Regions from separate parts of the Homo sapiens genome. Here region 1 is linked to region 2. Evidence: promoter capture Hi-C in human tissues and cell types (Jung and others, 2019). All regions are on one chromosome and are shown on one strand. Each heading gives the region's core, a stretch centred on a gene start or on the middle of the fragment in contact. The rest is flanking DNA. Distances are from core to core; before and after follow the strand shown.

The links. Contacts are between HindIII fragments. The study calls those that stand out against the background at their distance.
Region 1: a fragment that was not itself captured here is called in contact with the fragment with the promoter of PAX9 in region 2 in 3 of the 25 tissues and cell types used here (H1 embryonic stem cells, mesendoderm cells and thymus).

Annotation. Positions count from the first base shown.
Region 1 is chr14:36,586,510-36,591,463 of GRCh38, forward strand. No RefSeq gene overlaps it. Among named protein-coding and RNA genes, the nearest start is that of NKX2-8, 6.4 kb to the left of the region's middle. The HindIII fragment of the contact is 6,603 bases long and covers 1-4,954 here.
Region 2 is chr14:36,658,410-36,663,444 of GRCh38, forward strand. It overlaps PAX9 (paired box 9), which reads left to right and starts at 3,451. Exons shown (of 4, transcript NM_001372076.1): 1 at 3,451-3,684; 2 at 4,488-5,035. The coding sequence starts at 3,681. It overlaps LOC105370455 (a long non-coding RNA gene), which reads right to left and starts at 340. Exons shown (of 2, transcript XR_943758.3): 1 at 135-340. RefSeq lists a promoter at 2,185-3,382, a cis regulatory region at 2,642-3,154 and enhancers at 3,919-4,430, 4,431-4,940, 4,941-5,035. The HindIII fragment of the contact is 9,466 bases long and covers 1-3,535 here.

The DNA of each region.
Region 1 (4,954 bases), core at 1,172-3,671, 73 kb before region 2:
GTGATTCTTTCTTAGTTATATCGATGATATATACACACAGGACAAGGAACAAACAGCAATTATTTTCAGGCTGGAAATTTAGTCTATTTTTGAAATGGCTTTAGATTTTATTGTTTAATGCCAAATGACAAGATTTGAATGATCCTACCTTCAGTCTCTTAAAATAATGACTTTACATTGACTTTGTTACTGTTCTTGATCTCTAGAGGGAAAGCTTTTCTTTCCTAATATGTTTCTCTAGTTATTTAAGTATGTACATGAAAAAATATATAGAAGTAAAATGGTTCAATTAATTGAAAAATAAACTTATTTTATTAAATATCCATCCTTACCATTTGCTAAAAAGCCAGCAAATAACTGTTTAAATTTTAGTTTATTAAATATTCTAGTCTTCCTTATGCCTTACAATGGTATAATAAGGATAGCTGTTATGGCATGATATGTAAGTTAGCAGAATAAAAATAGTAACACACCTTGGAGGAGGGGTGTCAGATCTTATTTGTCCAGAGCTGAACCTCTTATTTTTGTCTAAGCTTTTTTTTAAAGTACCATGTTATACTCCTTTGCTCAACTGATATAGATGTAGTTTCTATAACACAGAATTCTTATTGATGTTTACATAATAAAGTTCCAGGCCCTAAATCATATTTAATGCTACATGCAGACACTGACAGGGTAGATTGACCCCAGGAACATATTCGATGATCTCAGCCCCAGTATCTCACATAGGCCTACCCATAGTGCGTGCTTATAACTAACCATCAACACTTCAGTTCAAGCCAGTTATTATTTTTTAAATTGCCCAAGCATTATAATGGGGTCTTTTAAAATATACCTTTACTTTGTTCTTAGATCATCTCTGGAATTCTAAAAGAATCCCATCATTAAAGTGAGGTATTATTTCTGTCTTACTTGACAGAAATTTAAACAAAACACTAAACCAATCATTCTGGAGAAGTATTTGTTAATATTCCGTGAAGACAGGGATCCCAGTCTTTCAAAGGGCCAAAGAATCAGATGTTCAATTCTCTTATCGATGTCGACAATAGTAGTAATAAAAATATCACTTCATATTTTACACATTTGAGAATGTTTACAACGTATATTCACACTTAGTCTCAGTCACAAGAGATTATCTGGAAGATGGAAAACTTAAAGAGGGACTTAAAGGCGAGATAGACTGAGATATCCCTAGAATTGAAGAAATCAGTGGGGAGGATGAAGAGGACCTAAATAAGAGAAAGAGAGTCCATTGTAATAGAAGGTATTAGAAAAGAAAGAGTAAAAAGTGAAAGAGAAAGACAGCATGTGCTAGCTTAGAAGCTACAGGTTCAATTTGATCTCATCAACTCAAAGAGGATAAGCATGGATGGAAAAGTTCCAGTTGAGAGTAGCTTTTATATTCTTTCCCAAAGTCTTTATAATTCTAAAAATTACGACAATAGATAAGCTTTAGTTTTTAAAACACTTCAAATTTTTCTAGATCCTATCTAGTTTACTCTTAATTTTCCCTTGGAAAAATCTTTTCCCCTCTTCCAAGAGGTGGCACAAATACACAACAGAAGCAAGAAATGACTGCTTGTGGGAATTTCCCCACAAAAAGAGTAAAAGAACTATATATGTTTACTGCAGCCTCTGGAAATCCCTTAACCAGCAAAGGTGGCTGTCTTTGTATTCTTGATTAAATGGGTATTTGCACTGAAGTCACATACCACACAAAGGAAACAAAACAAAATAAAAATGTCCTCCGTGTTCTGTTTTTCAATCATTTGTGTGAAGGAGGTTCCTGGCCTTTATCACTGTCAGTGAAAAGTTCTTCATTGGCAGGAGACATTCCACTCACCCTGCTTCTTGTGCACAGGGAGCTTACCATGGAAACTACTTCTGGATCCATCAGACAAATATATAAACGACAAAGCTCCACGCTGGGCATTTTAGGTTTAGCGACAGGATATGAAGAAGGGCGTTTAGAATTTCTTGAGAAATTTATTGTTCTATTTGCCTTGCTCTGAATCTTAAAACCCATAAATTGAACTTGTTTAAGTTAGGAAACAACTAAGAAATGACTTTATCTAAGGAAATTCTTTCTGGCACAAAAATATATATGCCATGTTTAACACAACTTAAGTATAGTAAAACTGTGCTTTAGGTAGATTATTTTTAAATGATAGCTTCAGTATCCCCAAGATAATAAATTCATCCTAATACATGTTTGTATTTTTTAATCGGGTATGGCCTTTAATTAAGTGAGACAAACAAACAAACAAAAAGCCCCATAATTGTTTCTATGCTGACCACATTCCTTTTGTTAACAAGCTCCATCCTAAAGTGTCCTTGGCTTATTCTTAAAATGTAACATTTTGCTTTGTAACACAAACCTGAGGAAACAAGATATCATCTCAGAAAACTTTCATTGCATTTTTTGGATTCCACGTTTTGTCAAGCTCTCATTTGATTTATAACCAACCCCAGGTTACTTCCCCACGGTTTCCAGCTAGTCTGTTTCCAGCTTTCCTCTGCTCGTGGTCCACATGAACTCACCGTGAAGACCATCTGTGCTTGACACATCCACCCATGAGCAGCGTGTTTCCAGTGCTCATTTTCATTAGCAGCTCCTCACGTCAAGTCAGTTTACATAAACTCGACTGATATATTCTTGGATGGCTATGCCATCAGGATGTGCACATTTTTATACATAATGAAAACACAGTTTTTTTTCTTGGGCACTGGGAGTAAGGATATGTTCAGTCAGTTTGTAGTATGAGAAAGAAATAGATGGTCACAGATTCTATTGTAGTTGCTTCTTTAGGTTTGGCTACTTTAAAACCAAAACAAAACCTTCCTTTTAAAAATTTTTCTTACACGAAAGGACTGGGCTATAAGGCCGATTTAGACGGGGAAAATCAAAAGTATAAATATGTACCTAAAGTTAGACATTCTATTTCTTACGTATTATTAAAATGATTTTATAATGATAAATTTTGTGAAAGCTCAGATGCCAGAATGCAGGGGTTATCCAAGATCATTAGCAGGTCATCCCTGGTGAATTTAACCTTCTGGTTTTTTCTGTAATAAAAATAAAAAACTACTCAAGTTCCATGAATTATTTTAGTCATCTCTTTTATAGAACCATTAGGAAAAGTACATGAATATCTCCTTTTATGAATTACACTGTTTTTCTGTTATTGAAATTTTCTATTATTCAAATCCTAGGGAAGTCGGAGTGAGATCCTGATTCTCCAGGCAGCTGATTGATCACAAGAGCATCCCTAAGGGGTAGCATGGGGATGGGGATGAAGGGAGAAACCTACAAGTGTCTCTAACTGAATCTGAGGTAGTTTGCACTGAAGGGAGGTGGGTGGGACAGGGTGAAGGGAAGGAGGAAGGGAGGAGAAAGTGAGAGGGTGAGTGCTTGTCTCAGCTTAGGGATTCCCCATCTCCAGCCAGCCAGGGCTTTTACCAGTTGGAGGATGGTAAAGGGAAGGCAAGTGGCAGGGAGTCAGTTTCATCACCTCTGGAGTACCACACCACCAAGTGTAGAGGAGAAAGGGCTTGGTGGTTTGTTCAGATGCCAATTAAGGGACCCGAAGGCCTGTACATTTTAAAAGTCCATGTAGGGAACAAAGTCTGATATGTAGGGATCCTGTTGTGATTTGTTTTTTTGTTTGGTTGTGTGTGTGTGTGTGTGTGTGTGTGTGTGTGTGTGTATGTGATTTTGGGGGTTTTTGTTTTGTTTTGTTTTTCCAGCATCTCAGTGACTAGCAGTGTGGCTTTATCTGGTCTAAGTTGTATTTGTTTCCAAACAGCTTCATCTGTTACAATGCTAATTGGGCAGCACAGAAACACTTTGCAAGTCGAATTTTTTTAAAAGTTAACTTACCCCAGCAATGAACACAGATTGAAAATCAGTTAAAAGCCAGTGAGAACAAATGTCTCTTAAATCGAGGATGGAACAAAGGGAAGGTGGGGGCACATCCCTTAATGTCAATAGGCAGAAAGCTGCACGTGCACAATGGGCATGGGAGGGACCACCCAAGGTGACTCGTGTCAGTTCTGGAGACCGACAGAGACCTGGAGCCTGGGGGCCAGGCTAGCCACCCAGAGTTCTGCTCAGGAGGGAGCCAAGGTGGTGGGGAATGGTCATATTCTTGTTCCAAGCTACGCTGTATCCACAGCCAATTTTCTTCTTCCAAGTATGACCAAAATGTCAGGAGGTCTGCACTCCGGCTGCTGTGGCCAGCGATCACACTCTTGGTGGATCTGGAAGGCTGTTCATTGGAGTGGCTAATCACTAACTAGAGTCATGGAATTATGCAAAATGTACAACCCCCTCCACCCCCCACCACAAGACTGCCCACACACCTCACTTTATTGTCAGTAGCATGCAGGTCTCTCAAGGGGCAGAATTTTGAGAAAATTATAATCCACAAATATATGGTAAGTAACTCAGGAGCACCAGGCACTAAGCTAGTACTGAGGCTGATCTAGTCAAGTATAGTTAATAGTCCATAACAAGCAACCTGATTTTTCTTTCCAACATGCACCACATTTGGGGATCAAATAGAACCAGATCTGGGTTTGCCATCTGGCTCTCCCAATAGTGCCTAAATGACCTTGATCAAGTTTTGTAATTTCTTTGAGCCAGGGTTTCCTCATGTATAAATGGAAATAAAAATTCATACAGGGATTATGAGGATTAATGAGATATTTGTTTTGGTTGCTTGGCATAGTGCTTGCCCACAGTTAGTAGGTACTCAAGTGTGGCAATTGTTGCTGTAATAATAATGTATCTTGGGAGAAGTGAGATGCTTATGGAGAAGCTGAGTTTTACCCCCATATAACCAACTTGGAGCTGTCCTATACTAACTTTAGGATTATCAGTGACAGAGCTGTAGAGAACTTTATCTAGTTCTACCCCTTCCTTTCACAGAAGAAACGGAGGCACAGAGGGAGG
Region 2 (5,035 bases), core at 2,201-4,700:
TGGAGGAATCAGCTCCTTAATATTTTCTGCTAGCTCTGCTTGTCATAACTGCAACTCGGAATAGAACAACCTCTCTCCCGTGCATACGCACCCCCAACTCTCGCCCTATCCTCCCATCCACAGTCATCACTGACCTGTAGACCCGGAGGAGCAGGCTTCCGGGGGTCGGTCCAGGTTGGGGATACAGGGAGGGGTCCTCGCGTTCCGCACAACCTGTAGTGCTTGGGTCTGACTTCGGCAGCCCTCGGGTACAGTCTGCCGGGCTAGATTCCCGTTGCTTCTCCGCGTCTCTCCGCGGGCCGCTCTAGCGCCGGGAAGGGGGCGCCGCAGGTGACTGCCCGCGGCACTGGGACGGCTGACAGATTTATGGAGACTTCACAGCATCTGGCTGGGGTCCGCGAGGGCAGGGCGGAGTCCGGTCGATCCGATGCTGGGGTCTAAAGCTTCCCCAGCCACACGCCTGGGCCGAGTCGCCCCCAGAGTCCCCGGCCCCTGCTCCCCTTGGGCGGGTGTACACAAGGATCCGGCCAGCGCCGAGTGTACTGGTTCCTCCCACCCAGTGTAGCCCCCTCCTTCACACTCTCGGCCCGGCTTCCAGTCTCCCACTGAGTAAATATTTATCCAGAGAGCGAGTCGCCCCTCGGAGGAGGCCTCGACGCGGCTAGGGAAAGGCTTTTTGGCTTCTCCCTGGCCTGAGCCAGCTGCAGGCCTTACTGGTGTTTTGGTTTTGGTCTTAAATTTCTCCTTTTAGTCGAAATTCTTCCGATCTCTTTGAGATCTTCTGAGTCCAGAGTGAGCAGTGTAACCAGGCGGCAGACTCCAGCTGACCCTTGTTCTTGTTCTAGGTCCTGCATCCTTACATTCATCGGGACTGACCAGACCTTAGTGTTCTCTCTTTTCCTTCCTTCATCCTCTTTCTCTGCCTCAGATCCGTCGTCTCTCGGTCGGTCTCAGCGGGTCGCTGACTACCTCGCCCTAGCACTCGGTCCGCGCCCCGGGAAGGCTTCAGCATCACCCTCTTCTGCTGGGATCCCGCTGACCCTGTCTGCAGCTTCGGCTTCTCTTGCTCCCAGAGCGGGGTCTTCGGCTTGCCGCGGATACTTAGTGGCCCAAAACACCTAAAATTGACTCTTCCTGCGCTCTTGAGAATGCCAAGAGCACCCAGTACCTGCAACCGCCGGCATGAGTGGGGCCTGCGGGGAGCCGCCAGAGCTGCGGACAGGCCCCCTGCCCACTGAGTTGCTACCCCTGGCACGCCCAGGGGATCCGCAGCAGCTGAGGCCACATGGTCACAGCCAAGTTCAGCAGGTGGAAAGGGAGAGATGGCATTGAACCTATGTGAGAACTGGGAAGATGTGTGGCAGCTGAAGGAGTTGGTAGGAACAAGAGGGAGTTGTATGTTACCTCCATATAACCAGAGCTCTAAACCATATCAGTTTCTGAACCAGTCTAGGCTGGTGCTGCAGAACTGCTAAAGCTCTCGCAGAGTCCCCAGACCCCCCGCGGGACATGAGGTCTTGCCTGTTCGTATGCGAACATCCTTGTACCCGCCTAGCAGCCCTGCAGACTGCAAATTTTCCCTGGGTGCACGGAAGTAGAGCAGATTTGGCGCAGAGGTCGATACTCACTGCCTGTCTGTGAGGGGGGAGGAGGATTCCTTCCTGGTCAAGTTGCCGGGCATGTTCATTCCCTCCCGCAAGCCTAAGGCAGAGTCATAAGCTCCCCTACGATGCGGCAAAGTCTCAACTAATTTATCTACCAGCCTTAAGAAGGAGCTGCTGCTTCTAAAATCTTTAGATTTCCGAAGGCTCTCCTTGTGTAAAAATGCCAGGCGGTGCCACACGATGTCACCCAACAGGTATTGGAGGTCAGACCAGGCTGAAATTGCTATCAAGTCAAACTTCAAGAAGATTTTAAACATTTGAAACCAACCAACAAAAAGGGACAAGTTCAAGTATGTCTAGTTGTGGGATTTCCCCCAAGATTCCGATTCTAAAGAGTGGTGTTTTAGTTCATCTTTACCTTTCACATCCTCCATTCTGTTAGGTAATTTTGAATTTAGAGTGCATCCTAACCATAGAAGTGGGAATCTGGAGATCTGTTCCTTTGCAGAAGCATGGCTGATCATAGTTTTTTCCTGGGTTCTTGCAACTTACTGACCTGAGATCTGGGACCAGTCAGCTTCTCTGGGTGTAGACCGCAGCCACACACATCCCTGGGGACTGTTGGGGAAGCAGCCTGAATCCTGTGTGCACAAGGAGCCTTCTGGATTGTCAAGTAGCAGTAACAGAGTTCACGACCCCAAGCAGTACAAACTCCCAAATTCACGAAAATATTTCTCTTCTTGTTTATTATTTTGATTCACATTCTCCACAACCCTAACTGCAAATATTAATAACTTTGGCTGCAAAAAAGCATACGGTACACTTTAGATTAGACTTACAGTGAATAAAAGTGAAAATTCAGAAGTAGGCAGAACGACAGGGCCTCTGGAGCTTAATGGAAGACGAGGGAATTACATCCATGTGCAGCGTCGGTGTCCACTGTCTTGGGACTAAGTCTCTTTCATATTTAAACAAAACTCTTTCGAGAGGGCTCGCTGGTTTGGAGAACCCTCACAAACGCTGCCACCGAGGGCCAGGGGCCCAGGACAGTGGCTGAATGTGGCAGAGCCTTGGGCTCCGTAGTGAGTGCCCCACGCACTGGCAATTGGTCGACTTGGGGCTGTGCGCTAGCGTTAGCCGCCTGTGGTTCAGTTCCCCGCACACGGCGTGGCCCGTGCCTCGAGCCTGTGTGGCTAGTGGTTGGCCGGTCCACCTGGACTGGGGGGTCGCCGCAGGAAGCTGGCGGTAGGAGGAACCTCCCTGGCCTTAACAGTGGCCCCCACCTGTGGCTCGGGCTCCCCGCAACCTCCTGGTTTCTTTGGCCGGCCTATCTTCTCACACCTGCGCTCTCGCCACCTGGCATGGACTGAAGTGAGGTAGAATCGGCAGGTGACACAGATCCTCTCCTGACAGTCCCCAGAGGCCCGCATGACAGATTTTGCTAAGACAACTCCCTCACCCCTGTGCACGGTGGCGCCCGCCTCCCACCTATAGCCTTAACTTCAATTCTGAGATGTCCATCGTTCCCCGGAGGAGGTCTCCTCGGGCCCCTTCTCCCTTCGAGTCATTCACATTCAGACCAAACGCTTTCATTTGTTTATTCAGCATTTTACCAGCCTGATTTTGCTGTCTTTTTGTGCCGCTTCTGGGAAGATGTCAAACACCCATTTTCATTGTATTTAGTCACCCAGGTGGGGAGCTAGCCTGAAAGAGACAGCGGAAGGAGTTTCCTGGACTGCGCTGTCGCTCACCGACCCGCACCAATCACCATGCAGCTTGCCCTCGGACCCGCCCCTTTTAGGGCGTGTCCCCAGTGAGTGATAGACGGAGCCGCCCTGCCCTGCTCAGCCCAGCCCACGTTGCTGCTTAGATTGAAATGCAGAACTCAAGCCTCTTTCATCGGGGCACAGACTTCCTTTTACTTCTTCCTTTTGCCCTCTCGCCTCCTCCTCCTGGGAAGAAGCGGAGGCGCCGGCGGTCGGCCGGGATAGCAACAGGCCGGGCCACTGAGGCGGTGCGGAAAGTTTCTGTCTGGGAGTGCGGAACTGGGGCCGGGTTGGTGTACTGCTCGGAGCAATGGGTGAGTGGCGGCGGGGGACTCTGTCAGAGCCGGGAAGGGAGGGAGGGAGCGAGCGGGCAAGGGAGGGAGGGAGGGAGGGAGCGCGAGGGCGCGCGCCACTAGGCGCTCACATTCTCTATTGACTTTGCTCGTGTTCCTACAAGTTGTAGGAACACGCTAAGGGTCAGCGGCGCACAGCAGTTCAATGTGAACGCTGGCTACTGGGTGGCTGTTGATGCCATTTTCTGATTTTAAGAGAAGGGAGCTGTGGCATCAGCGAGCCCCTCAGCCCGAGTAGCAAACCAAGTTTTGTTTCACACGCGCGCACACATGCAAACAAAACAGGAAAAGAAAAGAAAAGAAAACAAACAACAACAAATAAAACACCCTCTAGCTTCCCCTAGACTTTGTTTAACTGGCCGGGTCTCCAGAAGGAACGCTGGGGATGGGATGGGTGGAGAGAGGGAGCGGCTCAAGGACTTTAGTGAGGAGCAGGCGAGAAGGAGCACGTTCAGGCGTCAAGACCGATTTCTCCCCCTGCTTCGGGAGACTTTTGAACGCTCGGAGAGGCCCGGCATCTCACCACTTTACTTGGCCGTAGGGGCCTCCGGCACGGCAGGAATGAGGGAGGGGGTCCGATTGGACAGTGACGGTTTGGGGCCGTTCGGCTATGTTCAGGGACCATATGGTTTGGGGACAGCCCCAGTAGTTAGTAGGGGACGGGTGCGTTCGCCCAGTCCCCGGATGCGTAGGGAGGCCCAGTGGCAGGCAGCTGTCCCAAGCAGCGGGTGCGCGTCCCTGCGCGCTGTGTGTTCATTTTGCAGAGCCAGCCTTCGGGGAGGTGAACCAGCTGGGAGGAGTGTTCGTGAACGGGAGGCCGCTGCCCAACGCCATCCGGCTTCGCATCGTGGAACTGGCCCAACTGGGCATCCGACCGTGTGACATCAGCCGCCAGCTACGGGTCTCGCACGGCTGCGTCAGCAAGATCCTGGCGCGATACAACGAGACGGGCTCGATCTTGCCAGGAGCCATCGGGGGCAGCAAGCCCCGGGTCACTACCCCCACCGTGGTGAAACACATCCGGACCTACAAGCAGAGAGACCCCGGCATCTTCGCCTGGGAGATCCGGGACCGCCTGCTGGCGGACGGCGTGTGCGACAAGTACAATGTGCCCTCCGTGAGCTCCATCAGCCGCATTCTGCGCAACAAGATCGGCAACTTGGCCCAGCAGGGTCATTACGACTCATACAAGCAGCACCAGCCGACGCCGCAGCCAGCGCTGCCCTACAACCACATCTACTCGTACCCCAGCCCTATCACGGCGGCGGCCGCCAAGGTGCCCACGCCACCCGGGGTGCCTGCCATCCCCGGT